Regions from separate parts of the Homo sapiens genome. Here all the other regions are linked to region 1. The links are contacts of gene promoters, found by promoter capture Hi-C in blood cells and fetal thymus (Javierre and others, 2016). All regions are on one chromosome and are shown on one strand. The core of a region is centred on a gene start or on the middle of the fragment in contact, and the rest is flanking DNA. Distances in the headings are between cores, read along the strand shown.

Region 1 (4,092 bases), core at 1,184-3,683:
GTTCCTAGCATAAAAGAAACATTTAAGGTCATGGATATTCCAATTATCCTGATTTGATCATTATCTATTATATGAATATATCAGAATATCACATATACTCCAAAAATATATATATCTAGCATGTAGCAATTTTTTATGTAATACATTATTTCTCTGGGGTATTTGTTTTTGTGTCAAAGGGAATTATAAGAGCAGAGGTGGAATATAAGGGGAAGTAAAACTCTAGGTTCTTGCTATACTCTTCCCTCCTGGACAGCTTCCAACCTTCTACACCCCACCTGAAATAGGCTTGGAAATTATCTTTCAAGGCTAAATAATATAGACAGGTAAATAGAGAAAGATACAGTGATAGCAAAAGAGATATATAATTTCTAAGCAATAATATCTGAGGAAACAAGTGGGTCAGAAGATAACAGCAGAACAATGTATTTATACAGGGCTTGTGTGAAAAGCTTAGCTGTGTTGTCAGGATTAATAGAGAATTATATAGTAGGTAAGTTCACATGAGACAGGAAAAGAGAAACATAATATTCTTGCCTCCTATCTGCTTGGTCTTGCTCTTCTTTTATTATGCTGGGCCTTGGGATGGAAATTTCAGAGAACAGAATCTATCATAATTATCATTTCCTTCTCTGTCTTAGGACAAATACACAAGTCTGACACCCCTAATTTAGTATATGTGTCCCCATCCCCTATCACAGATTTGGTGGAATTAGTAAATAAATGAGCCATTCTCATTCTTGAAAACATAAGATACATCTATGTGCAAAGAAAGAGTTGCATGAAACATAAAGCCAGAGGACATGTCTTATTCAAAGTACTTAATAAAAGGAATTGGACATAAGGATGGATTGGTAAATATAAGCAAAAGAATACACATACTGGCTTAGGTGAAAAAATGATTTTCTAGCAAGCATAGGTGTCTTACTCAGAACCTGCAGCCCTGGAATGTTTCAAACTTCCTAACACTGAGTGTTTCATCAGAAGCTGGACACCACCAGTCAGAATGAATGAAGGATTCCTATGTCAGATATACTGTTGGCCCTCACCCAGGTCCTGAGTAGATAGTTCACCAAATTCCCAATGACTAAGAAAAGAAACTCAGATTTTCAAAGTCTTCTCTTCAGCAAATGAAGTTGGAAGCATCTTTGTGTCTTTCGGTGAAGTCACCTGGAGACCCATGGGTCAAGTCTCTGTCAAGTTACTGATAGGGGTGAGGGCACTGTGAGAAGACAGCACAGTCAGCACATTCAATCCACAGGCTACCAGAGGACACAGACCCATGAGTCCTGAACAGACTGGTGGCTCTGAGTTTCAGGACATCATTTTTTTTTTTTCCAAGAAAAAACTAAACATGAAGATCCTGGCAGCCGTGCACATTCTACCATAGCCTGTCTCCAACTCCAGCAGACAAGCCAACCCATTCTTTCTCCACCTCACCCTCTACATATCCTTTCTTGGGAATACTCCCAAGATGCTCTCACGGATTTGCTTGGTCTTGACACCATAGATTATGGGATTGACCATGGGTGGGAAGAGCAGATAGAAATTGGCAAGGAGGATGTGGACATGAGGGGCAGCATGGCGGGCTACACGGTGCATGACTGAAGAGATGACCACAGTTGTGTAGAAGGCTAAGATGGCACCTATATGAGAGACACATGTCCCAAATGCCTTGTAGCGGGCCTCCTGAGAGGCAAGCAGTAGAACTGCCTGAAGAATAAAGATATAAGACAGGATAACAAGGAGCAGGTCCAACACCACAATAAACATGGCCACAGCGATGCCATAGATATTGTTGAAGCTAGTGTCCCCACACGCCAGCCTCACCACAGCCATGTGTTCACAGTAGCAGTGAGCGATCACTGGGCCTCGGCAGTAGTGGAAACATCTCAGCAGGAAGGGGAGTGGAGTCATTAGTGTCACAGCCCGGGCCACAGCAGCCATGCCAATCTTGGTGATGAGGGACCCAGTCAGGACCTTGGTGTAGTGCAGTGGCTTGCAGATAGCCACATAGCGGTCAAAGGCCATGGCCAGCAGCACTGCTGACTCCATGATGGAGAAGGAGTGAAGGAAGAACATCTGGGCCAGACAGGCAAAGAAGTTTATCTCCCGATCCCTGAACCAGAATATGGCAAGCATTTTGGGCAGTGCTGAGGAGGAAAGGACCAGGTCGATGGCTGCCAACATGGCCAGAAAGAGGTACATGGGTTCATGGAGGGCTGCATCAGCCTGGATGATGAGAAGGAGAGTGCAGTTTCCAAGCAGGGCCAGTGTATATGCTAAGCAGAAAGGGATGGAGATCCAGATGTGCAGGTGTTCCAGGCCTGGAATCCCCACCAACAAGAAGGCAGTTGGATGTGTTAAGGTGATATTGGAGGCTGACATGGCTCCTGGGAATTCTCTTCCTCCTTATCTGCTTCCACAGGGCCCTTCCAGAGAATATTCAATATCAGCAGAATTACAATGCTCACATTCAAACTCTGATCATTCTTGTGAGAAGATTAGTTCTTAGACCCATTTTTAGACATGAAAAGAAATGAGAAAATAATCATATGTATCATGAAATATTATGCATGATCCTTGCCCTTAAGCTGTTTATAAAAACACTGGGTGCTCAGGACATTTAATTCCAATAAAGCTAGTATTACAAAGCAGCCTTATTGAGAAATCAAGTGGAGGAAGAGCCTTTTGTGGCCTGCATGTGGCCAAAAGCAACTTTGTAAATAATACAGATTGCTGCTTAATTCAAATCATACCCACAAACATTTACCGTCACTGTCTTCCTATTGCCTTCCAATTCAAACTACACTCCCAATTATGAAAGAGTTTCTGCCCTGAAATGTCAATCTTGGTCATATGAAAAATAAATGTAGTTAGCACTTTCTAATAATTCACTTCCCTACAAGTTCTTTAGATTTTTTTTCTAGCAGGGTTTCGTAGGTCCTTGTTTGACACTCAGAAATCCCTCCAACTAAAGCCCTACCTCCAGGTAACTTGAGAACATGAGAAGCCCTTTTGTTGTTCTCTTTTGCCTAACTGTAGTTTAACCTTCATCTCTACGTGCTTCTTCCTTCCTGGACTTCATGACATTCAGAAGAAGAGATGCCCCACACTTACCTTTTTGCAAGACTGACCTATTCCCTTCACACTATTTTTCCATCTGGGATCCTTATCATTCTATCTTTTTCCACCTTCTGTTGTCATTTCCCTTGAAAACGTTTAAACATTTCCTTGCAATATTTTTGACCTGTGCCACCTTTTTTTTCAGCTCCTGCCTAAAAACTTTCTTTTGGGGATTTTGAGATCTTTTAAAACACTTAGCACAAATCTTGAAACAGTGCTCAGTAAACGTGGACACTTATGAATTGAGAAAACAAAAGACTAAGTCACTAACAATCAGAACAGTTGGAAAACGTCAAAGATGAAACTTGAGCTTCGAGAACTCTGGTTTGCTGCCTCCCAATCCAATGTCTTAAATCACTACACTCTTCTGCTTCTACCTCATTGCTTCCTAAGAAGTATAAATCCAGCATATTCAAGTTAACAGAAATATAACTCAAACTCATTATCATGATATAGGAAAAAAAATTAGAATCTAAAGACTTGGGTTTAAGTAATGATTGAGCCATCAGCCTACCAATAGAAACTAGTATTAATCACTGAAATTTTTAAAGATTTAGGTTCCTCACCTATAGATGAAGGCATAACCATATCTTCCATGACAATTTTACTGCTTCATGATGAGGAAAGATAAAATCATGAGAAGAGTCCCTGTAAACTGTAAAGCATTGTAAAACTGTTATTTGTCATTACAATATTCCCCCTCCCACACAAATCTGCCCCCTTTTTTAAAATGTTTTTCTTGACATCAGCACAATCCCGCATTCCTTGGCCTTATATCTCCCTCCATCTAACACCCGCAACTGTTTTCCTTCACAACAATGTTTGTTGAAAAAGTTGAGTAATTCATTATCTAATTCCTCATCTCTTAATTTTTAATTCCTTCCAATCTAGCTCCCATCTCCTCTACTCCCCTTATATGATCTTATCATTGCTTGTGTATTCCCCTCTCTCTCTCTTCTTTTCTCT
Region 2 (4,092 bases), core at 1,065-3,564, 250 kb after region 1:
AAGAATGATAAAAGGGACGGTGGAGACAAGGGGGAAGTTGGGAGGGGGACGAGGGATAAAAGACTACACATTGGGTACAATGTACACTGCTCAGGTGATGGCTGCATCTCAGTAATTATCACTGAAGAACTTATCCATGTAACCAAAAATCACCTGTTCCCCAAAAACTATTGAAATTTTTAAAAGGTTAAAAAATAAAAATTTAAAAAAAGATCTGAAAGAGCATGATAGTCCCTTAACAGAGGTAAAGCCACCTCCTTTAAAAGAAGGAGGTGGCTGTGTGTAGAGTATTGCCACACTGGACAGTGATATGCGAAGGGGGAGGCAACGATATGTCACAGAGGGTAGGCAACTAGCAAAAAGTGGTGAGGATATTCTGTGAATATAAGCGTCCGCAGAGCATGGGGAACCACTAAGTTTAGCGGAGGCGTCAGAACTAAATCTACTGAAGTTGAAGTTTTCTCATATTTTTCTATCGCTATTATAACTCTTAGGGAGGTGGATAACCAAGAAGCGCTGACTGTTTTCTCTCAGTAAAACAGTGTTCACTATGGGGAACCATTCAGTTTGGTGGAAACTCTAGGACTAAGTTGGCTGAGGCTTCCACAAGCTTTGCTGCTGTTGTCATAGCTCTTGGACAGATATGTTTTGGCTACTGGCTCTAATGAAAGACTGAGATGGCCCATAGGCCTCTGCTCAGTGCTGCCCTGAGACGTACTGGAGACAGAGACAAAAGGAAAAATGTGTGCCCCTGTGTACACGTATTTCTGTATTTGCTAGTGGCTATTTTTTCCAGAACATTAAAGAAATATTTAAAATACTGAAAAATTGAAAAGTAGATTATTAAAACTCATATTAAGGTCACATATATAATTTCACTTCCCTGGATTTAATGGAAGTGAACTCATCCAAAACAATAAAAGACTGATAAATTGTATTATATAAAAATAAAATTATTTTATTATACAAAAATAAAATTATTTTATTATACAAAAATAAAATTATTTTATTCAAAAAAAAAAAGAAAAAAGAAAAGTCCTGGCCGGGTGCTGTGGCTCACGCCTGTAATCCCAGCACATTGGGAGGCCAAGGTAGGCAGATCACCTGAAGTCAGGAGTTTAAGACCAGCCTGGCCAACGTGGTGAAACCCCGTCTCTACTAAAAATTCAAAAATTAGCCGGGCGTGGTGGCGGGCACCTGTAATCCCAGCTACTCAGAAGACTGAGGCAGGAGAATCGCTTGAACCTGGGAGGGGGAGGTTGCAGTGAGCCGAGCCTGTACCACTACCCTCTAGCCTGGGCAACAGAGCAAGACTCTGTCGCAGAAAAAAAAAAAAAAATCCCAAAATAAATTAAACACTGAGAGAAAAGATCGGTAATATATAACACAGATACATATGTAATATCGCTAATATATAAATAACTTTTTCTACTCGATAGAAGTTTCAAAAACCTGATATAAAAATGGTCAAATAGTCAAAGACATAAACAGACCATTGACTGAAAAAAGAATTAAAATGTCCCGTAAACATGTGAAAAAACATTCAGCCTCAACTATAATAAGAGAAATGCAAATTAAAATAACACTGAGATATTATCTCTCACCTAGCAGATTGGCAAAAATGTAAACATACACTAACACGTTCTGTTGGCAAGGCTTGAAGAAAGTAGATGCTCAAGCATTTCTGATGGGAATGGAAATTAGTACAACCTTAATGGGGGAGAATTTGATGATATCAAACAAAATGGCACATGCTTTTCCCCCTTTTTATAATTTATCCTGGTAATACATATTCAAATATATACAAAAATACATATGTTTAAGGATTTTCATTGTAGCATTGTTTATAATTGAAAAATATTAGAAACAACCAAAATGACTTTACATAGGAAAATGGTTGAATGAACTATGGTACATCATCGAATGGAATAGTCTGCAGCTATAAAAATGAATGAGGATGACATCTATAAACTGATATAGAATGGCTCCCAAGATATGCTGTTAAATTTAAAAAGCAAAGTGTGAGAAAGTGTTTATGGTATGCCACGTTTTGTGCAAGAAAGAAAGGGGAATAAGAAAATATATATTTGTCTGCACAACTATACAAAAAGAAACTTAGGAAAGGAAACCCAGAAACTAATGAGATTGGTTCCATACAGGAGTGGGTGGAAATGGAGTGACTAAAGTTGCAGATAGCAAAATAAGTCACTTTTGTCAGACCCGAGCAAACTGGAGCCAGAACACACAAAGGAGCACAGCTCATGCTTGCACATCTGAGATAAGGACTATTTCAAGGACTTTCTAAAATAACTCCACGAGAAATTCCTTCATCTTTTATACATCTCATGCTTTTCATGATCTACATTTTACATGCATTTTACATTTTACATGCATGCACATATTTCTATGACCAGGTTTATCACTATACATTCTTTAGGACTGTAGCAATTCTGATAAGATGCTAGGCCGATGCCTAGCAGTGGCATCTCCACCAATGAACTGATGCTAATTCTAGCTTTGAGCCTCCAGAACCAATGAACTCTGTCTCCAAGCAGCTTACATAGCTTCTCCTTGCCAGTAAAAATTTCCCTTTACCTTTGGCTTGATGTACCTGTACCTATGGCTTGCTACAGCTGTGCTTCCCAGATTATAATCCTTTTGCTTACTCCCGAATAAACTCAACATATTAGGATATATTTTTCTCTGATGTCTTTTTTTAGCCTGATGGGTGAAAAGAATAAGATGGTGGGAGCAAGGTAGAGAAGATGGAGGGCAGTGACACTTCTCTGAGTTCATGTTTTTGTACAGATCTGTTCTGACTTTTACAACCATGTTAATGTTTCATGTACTCAGTTTTTCAGTAAATACAATCAACAAGGATAAAAGGAGGAAACATTAGCATTGAATACATATGGAAGCAAGTGTACCGAACTGTAGGTTAAGTGAATGACAAAACACAGTACGGGTAGGGGGTGATAACAGAAGTTTTGAAGCAGTACTTTGCCTCTGTATTCTCAGGCTAGGGCAAAAAGACAGTAGCAAATATTGAACTCTGTTTAATAGATTTGTTTCCCACACCAGCATGAGTTAACAATTCTGAAACTACATTCTGTGTATTCTAGGATTAAGCAAATAAGTAAATATACTGTGGGTAACTGAAACCAGGTTTTTCACGGTTGGAGAAGGAAATTACATATATGGAAAGAGAGAAGGTTAAAATGAACTCTAGAGTGTTGGATTGGAACTGGTCATATCAGTATGAACTCATGGTTTTTAAGAAAGATAGGTAGGTAAGTAGGTAGGTAGATAGATGAATGGATTTGCATGTGTGTGTGTGCATATTTACATAATATATATACTACACACACATGTGTGTATATGTATGACAGGGCCTAAAAATAACAACACTCTGGCAATGAACAGACCTATTCCAGGTCTTGGTTTGTTTTTATACACAATTCTCTGCTAAAAGGAATCAGGGTTTCTTAGAAAAATACCAGATTACAGAGTTTGAGCCGGGAAAGTACAAGATGAGCCTGGAATATCTTGTAGTAACAGAAAGTAAGGAAGTGCTCAAAAAGTAATAGCAGTGTGTCAAAAAGACACAAGAATCAACTTGGAGGAGCTCTCACAGGACTAATCTGGGATAATTTTGATCATCAAAATCACCAATGCTAGTAACAAAGCATAACTAATTAAATAAAATAAATATCTATGAATCCAGACTGACTGAATGGAAGATGGGTGGGTAGGTAGATGGATGGATGGGCGGGTGGATGGATGGATGGATGGATGGATGGATGGATGGATGGATGGATTGGGAGGGAGGGAGGTAAACTCTTCCTTACAGTAGAGTAACAACTAATAAATGTATGAGAAATAATGGAAGCAGAAAATTCACCATTTTACAACCATTATACCTCAAACACTAATCATCAAAGGATGCTAAAATTTAGTGGGTAAAGTCTGATGAGAAACAGAATATTTATATCATCTCAAAGTATTTCCCAAAGCTTAATTACCAAATGAAAATATTAACTTTGCAATGGCAGACAAAGCCTGGCAGACACCACCTTATCCAAGTGACCAAAG
Region 3 (4,092 bases), core at 849-3,348, 230 kb after region 1:
GTTACCTATTACCACCACAGGCTCAGCAAGAAGATACACAGAGATGTTCCTCCTGAGCAGAATTATTTTTTTTTCTTACATTAAGTTCCAGGGCACATGCGCACAACGTGCAGGTTTGTTACATATGTATACCTGTGCCGTGTTTGTTTGCTGCACCCATTAACTCATCATTTACATTAGGTATTTCTCCTAATGCTATCCCTCCCCCATCTCCCCACCCCAAGACAGGCCCCGGTGTGTGATGTTCCCCACCCTGTGTCCAAGTGTTCTCATTGTTCAATTCCCACCTATGAGTGAGAACATGTGGTGTTTGGTTTTCTGTCCTTGCAATAGTTGTGAGCAAAGTTTTTAATACTAGCTGAATGTTGGTGCAAACTCTAGGTAATGTCATGAACTGAGCTACCAACTGTGAGCTGGGAGGACTCATTTGTATCTCAGACCTGAAGTCTCTATTAAACAGGCCTCTGTGGCCCCTTTTCCTATGGCCTTCATCCAAATATTTATCCTCTAGAGCTTACCATTCTAAAAAGAAAGAAATGATTACCCCATACAAAAGTGGACAAAGGAAAAAAAAAACAGCATTTATTCTCAGTGTATTTTTGCTTAGCCTCTTTCAATAAGCCCTACCCCTATAACTACAAGCCGATTGCTGTGCATCCTTGGACAGCTCATATTTGAATTGTTTTTCCTCTGCAAATGGAGTGATGAGAGGGGTTCCTTGGACTTGAACTAGAAGTTAGAGTCTACCATGACCTAGTGATGGAAAAGAGAATAGGTCTCAGAAACATTTAGGAAATAATCTTGTTAAAACTTCATGATCAATTGGATGAAGGAAGGTCCAGGTCCATGATGATTCCCTGGTTTCTAAATAGGGTGATTGCACCTTAAGTCTTGCAACTAACCAAAATAGATAATTGAGGCAAAGTAGGAAGTTCTACTTTTGCCAAATTCAACTTGAGATATACAAAAGAAAAGTTTCCTAATGCTGTTTATATATTCAACTCTGAGGCTTGGAGAAGAAGCCTTGGATAGAAGTTTAGATTTCAGTGGCATCGGTACCTACAGGTGCACGATGAAGCCATCAGATGAGTGGGAGAAAAAGCTTGCATCTACTCCTTATATGTTTATAACCCACCTCATTTCAAAATCAGATTTGAGTCAGCAGGAGAACATGTAGAAAGAGAATTAAAAGTCAGAATATTTGCCTAATAGACTCTAAATTTAGGGTAAGTAATGAAGAGGGACTCTCCCATAAACAAGAGAACTCAAATGTTGGTTTCACTGAAGCAAAGGATCCAAAAAGTTTTCTTCAAGAAGCAGAGATTGATCAAAACTTGAATTCAGTAGAGAGTTCCAGCATGTGAAGAATTAGGAGTTTTGTTTACCAGAACAGTTTCTTTCTAGTGCTCAGATATAAGTGAGATAGCCCTGGGCTACAGAACAAGTAGAGATAATGCTCCTTCAGAAAATAGGCTTGTCGGGGGAGGGTAGATGAGATTTGGACTTGAGGCAGGGCCTGACACATGTAGAATGTTGTGCTGGTTGTTTTGAAGACAGGACGTATTTAGTGTGTTTTTCATCTTGAGGAGACTTAGATGATATAAATTATGAAGGATATTTTATGTAGCAAGGCCCTAGATGGGATGAAACGGTTTGAAGGGGAGTAGCGGGTGATCTTGAAAAACAGGAACACTTTATTCAGTAGCCAAGAATAAAGTAATAATTAGTTTACTGAGTTGGCACTCTTAGCTAGTATGTGTAATAAGACTTCAGGTATTTTGTCTCCTTTAGGAGCAACACCAGGAAATACGTGGAATTACCCACTAACGGACTAAGAAATGAAGATATTGCCTAAGGTCATTACCACTCAGAACCCAATCTGTCTGATTTAAAAGTCCTGAGCCTGGCCGGGCGCGGTGGCTCACACCTGTAATCCCAGCACTTTGGGAGGCCAAGGTGGGTGTATCACCTGAGGTCAGGAGTTAGAGACCAGCCTGGCCAACATGGTGAAACCCCGTCTCTACTAAAAATACAAAACTTAGCTGGGAGTGGTGGTGCACGCCTGTAATCCTAGCTACTTGGGAAGCTGAGGTGGGAGAATTGCTTGAACCCAGGAGGCAGAGGTTGCAGTGAGCCGAGATCGGGCCACTGCACTCCAGCCTGGGTGACAGAGTGAGACTCCATATCAAAAAAATGTCCTGAGCCCTTAGCCAGTAGGTCTCACTGCCTCTGTGGAGAATATAGGTGTTGATGAGTCCAAGTTGGAAGGTGGGGTGGTGGGATGTTGAGGAGGGCATACCTGATACCCTCCAATTTTGATGTCATTGGTACAATGTTGGCTACCATTTGAATAGAGGGCTTGATGAGAGAATCACCTCAGAAAGGAAGAGATGAACAATATGAATGATGAAGATGCTGCTAAGTGAGAAGCACCCGTGGGGTGGGAGGAAGGACACGACATTATCAATGTTGATCAATGTTGAAGGACATGACATTATCAGTGAAGATGGTGGTGAGAGAGAGGAAGCAGTGGGATGGAGACACCACGAGTCACTTGTCGATTAATGGTTCGTTCACGCAACATTTTTTGAGCACCTTATGTGTACTCCATAGTATTCTCAATGTTGGGCCTACTTAGGTATAAGACATTCTGTCCCCTCAAGCTGTTCACAATCTAATCAACACAGTGGTAAATACTAACATGGGGTCATCTTGGGATGGCAGAACTTACAAGGAGCAACCATCCTAATCTCTGGGGATCAGAAAAGGCTTTCTGGAGGAGGTAATGTCTAACCCTAACCTGGGGGCTGAAGTGTGAATAGGGGTTTACTAAATGAAGGAGAAAGACTTTCAGAGAAATGGAAGAACAGCTTATGGAAATTTCAGACAGGAAGAGAAAGAAGGGCCTATTCTTAGGTGCTTAAGGGAAGGTGAAACATTGAAGGGAAGTAATGGCACTGAGGTTGGATGGGTCACCTGAGGTGAAGCTATCAGAGCCTAGTAAATTTTGCTGAGAAATTGTGATTTTATCCTGAGGTGCTGAGGATTTTAAGAAGTGAAATGAAATAACTAGATGTGCATTTTAGAAAGCTTAGTATAGCCACAATATAAAGAATTCGTTACGAGGGCAAGAATGGGGATTGGGGAGACCAGTCAGGAGCCTGTTTGGTAACCCAGGTGGGGTCAGGAAAATGGCAGAGGGCATGGAGAGAAGGAAGTCACACAGCTGATTCCAGAAGCCCTTTCTCTGACTAGAGAGAGGGTGACTTCTCTACTAAATCATTCTGCTGTTTCTTCTGTTCCCTCTAGACTCTAGTGCCTATGGCCAACCTTGGAAAGGCATGGCCAAAGCACCTGTGTGAGCCACTGCTACAGAATCTGGAGGAGCTGACATAGAGAAGAAACTCAGGTTCCTCCTGAAGGACCCATCCATGGAGAGGTCCTCCCAGATACCCTGGGGCGAGGTGATGAAGACCTGGGACAAGGCCCTCAGCCACAGGAAGAAGATGACCATGAAGAGCTTGGGGAAGCAAATGCAGAGAAAGGCCTGTGTGTGTGGTAAGTGTGGGAAGGATTTGTGTTTGCGGCAACCACCCTCTGCTGTTCTCCCTTTGCATCCTGCCTTCTTTCAGTTCTAGTTTTCCCTTTAGATCCTTTTTTTCCTTTCACCTCCTCATCACCCACCCCTTCACTTCCCTCCACTGTTTGCCCACCATCCCTTTTCCTCCTGTTCCTCATTAGCCTGTGTGTGTGTGTGTGTGTGTGTGTGTGTGTGTGTGTGTGTGTGTCCTTGATTACCTCCACCTGTTCTTTCCACTTGCCATTTCAAAGGTGAAATGTCCTGCTCTCACTCAGAGATAATGTAGCTCCTCACTAGGTGGAAAGCCAGCATATTTTCACATGTTCAGTGACCTTGCCTGGAAGGAAGTAAAAGTCAGTTGACCCCAAAAAGCCCATCGCCACCACCACCACCTCAAGACCAGAGTTCAGGGGCCATGTTCTGGGTCAGTGACCTACTGGTATCACCAGAGTGAAGCTGAAAGGGGCCAAGAAGATGTATAAGCAATTCCAGGAAGGTCTGTAATAAGACTT

The links. Contacts are between HindIII fragments. The CHiCAGO score rates a contact against its expected background, and 5 or more counts as called.
Region 2: a contact is called between a fragment that was not itself captured here and the fragment with the promoter of OR52K2 in region 1, in 8 of 17 cell types (non-activated CD4 T cells, naive CD8 T cells, M2 macrophages and 5 more). The highest score is 8.8, in non-activated CD4 T cells.
Region 3: a contact is called between a fragment that was not itself captured here and the fragment with the promoter of OR52K2 in region 1, in 13 of 17 cell types (naive CD4 T cells, naive CD8 T cells, total CD4 T cells and 10 more). The highest score is 10.1, in naive CD4 T cells.

What each region holds. Positions count from the first base shown.
Region 1 is chr11:4,447,636-4,451,727 of GRCh38, reverse strand. OR52K2 (olfactory receptor family 52 subfamily K member 2) reads right to left here and starts at 2,433. Exons shown (of 1, transcript NM_001005172.2): 1 at 1,367-2,433. The coding sequence starts at 2,388. The coding sequence ends at 1,444. The HindIII fragment of the contact is 8,565 bases long and covers 455-4,092 here.
Region 2 is chr11:4,195,153-4,199,244 of GRCh38, reverse strand. All of the region lies in intron 1 of LINC02749 (long intergenic non-protein coding RNA 2749), which reads right to left. Among named protein-coding and RNA genes, the nearest start is that of LINC02749, 10 kb to the right of the region's middle. The HindIII fragment of the contact is 3,403 bases long and covers 613-4,015 here.
Region 3 is chr11:4,214,482-4,218,573 of GRCh38, reverse strand. No RefSeq gene overlaps it. Among named protein-coding and RNA genes, the nearest start is that of SSU72L5, 17 kb to the left of the region's middle. The HindIII fragment of the contact is 1,988 bases long and covers 1,105-3,092 here.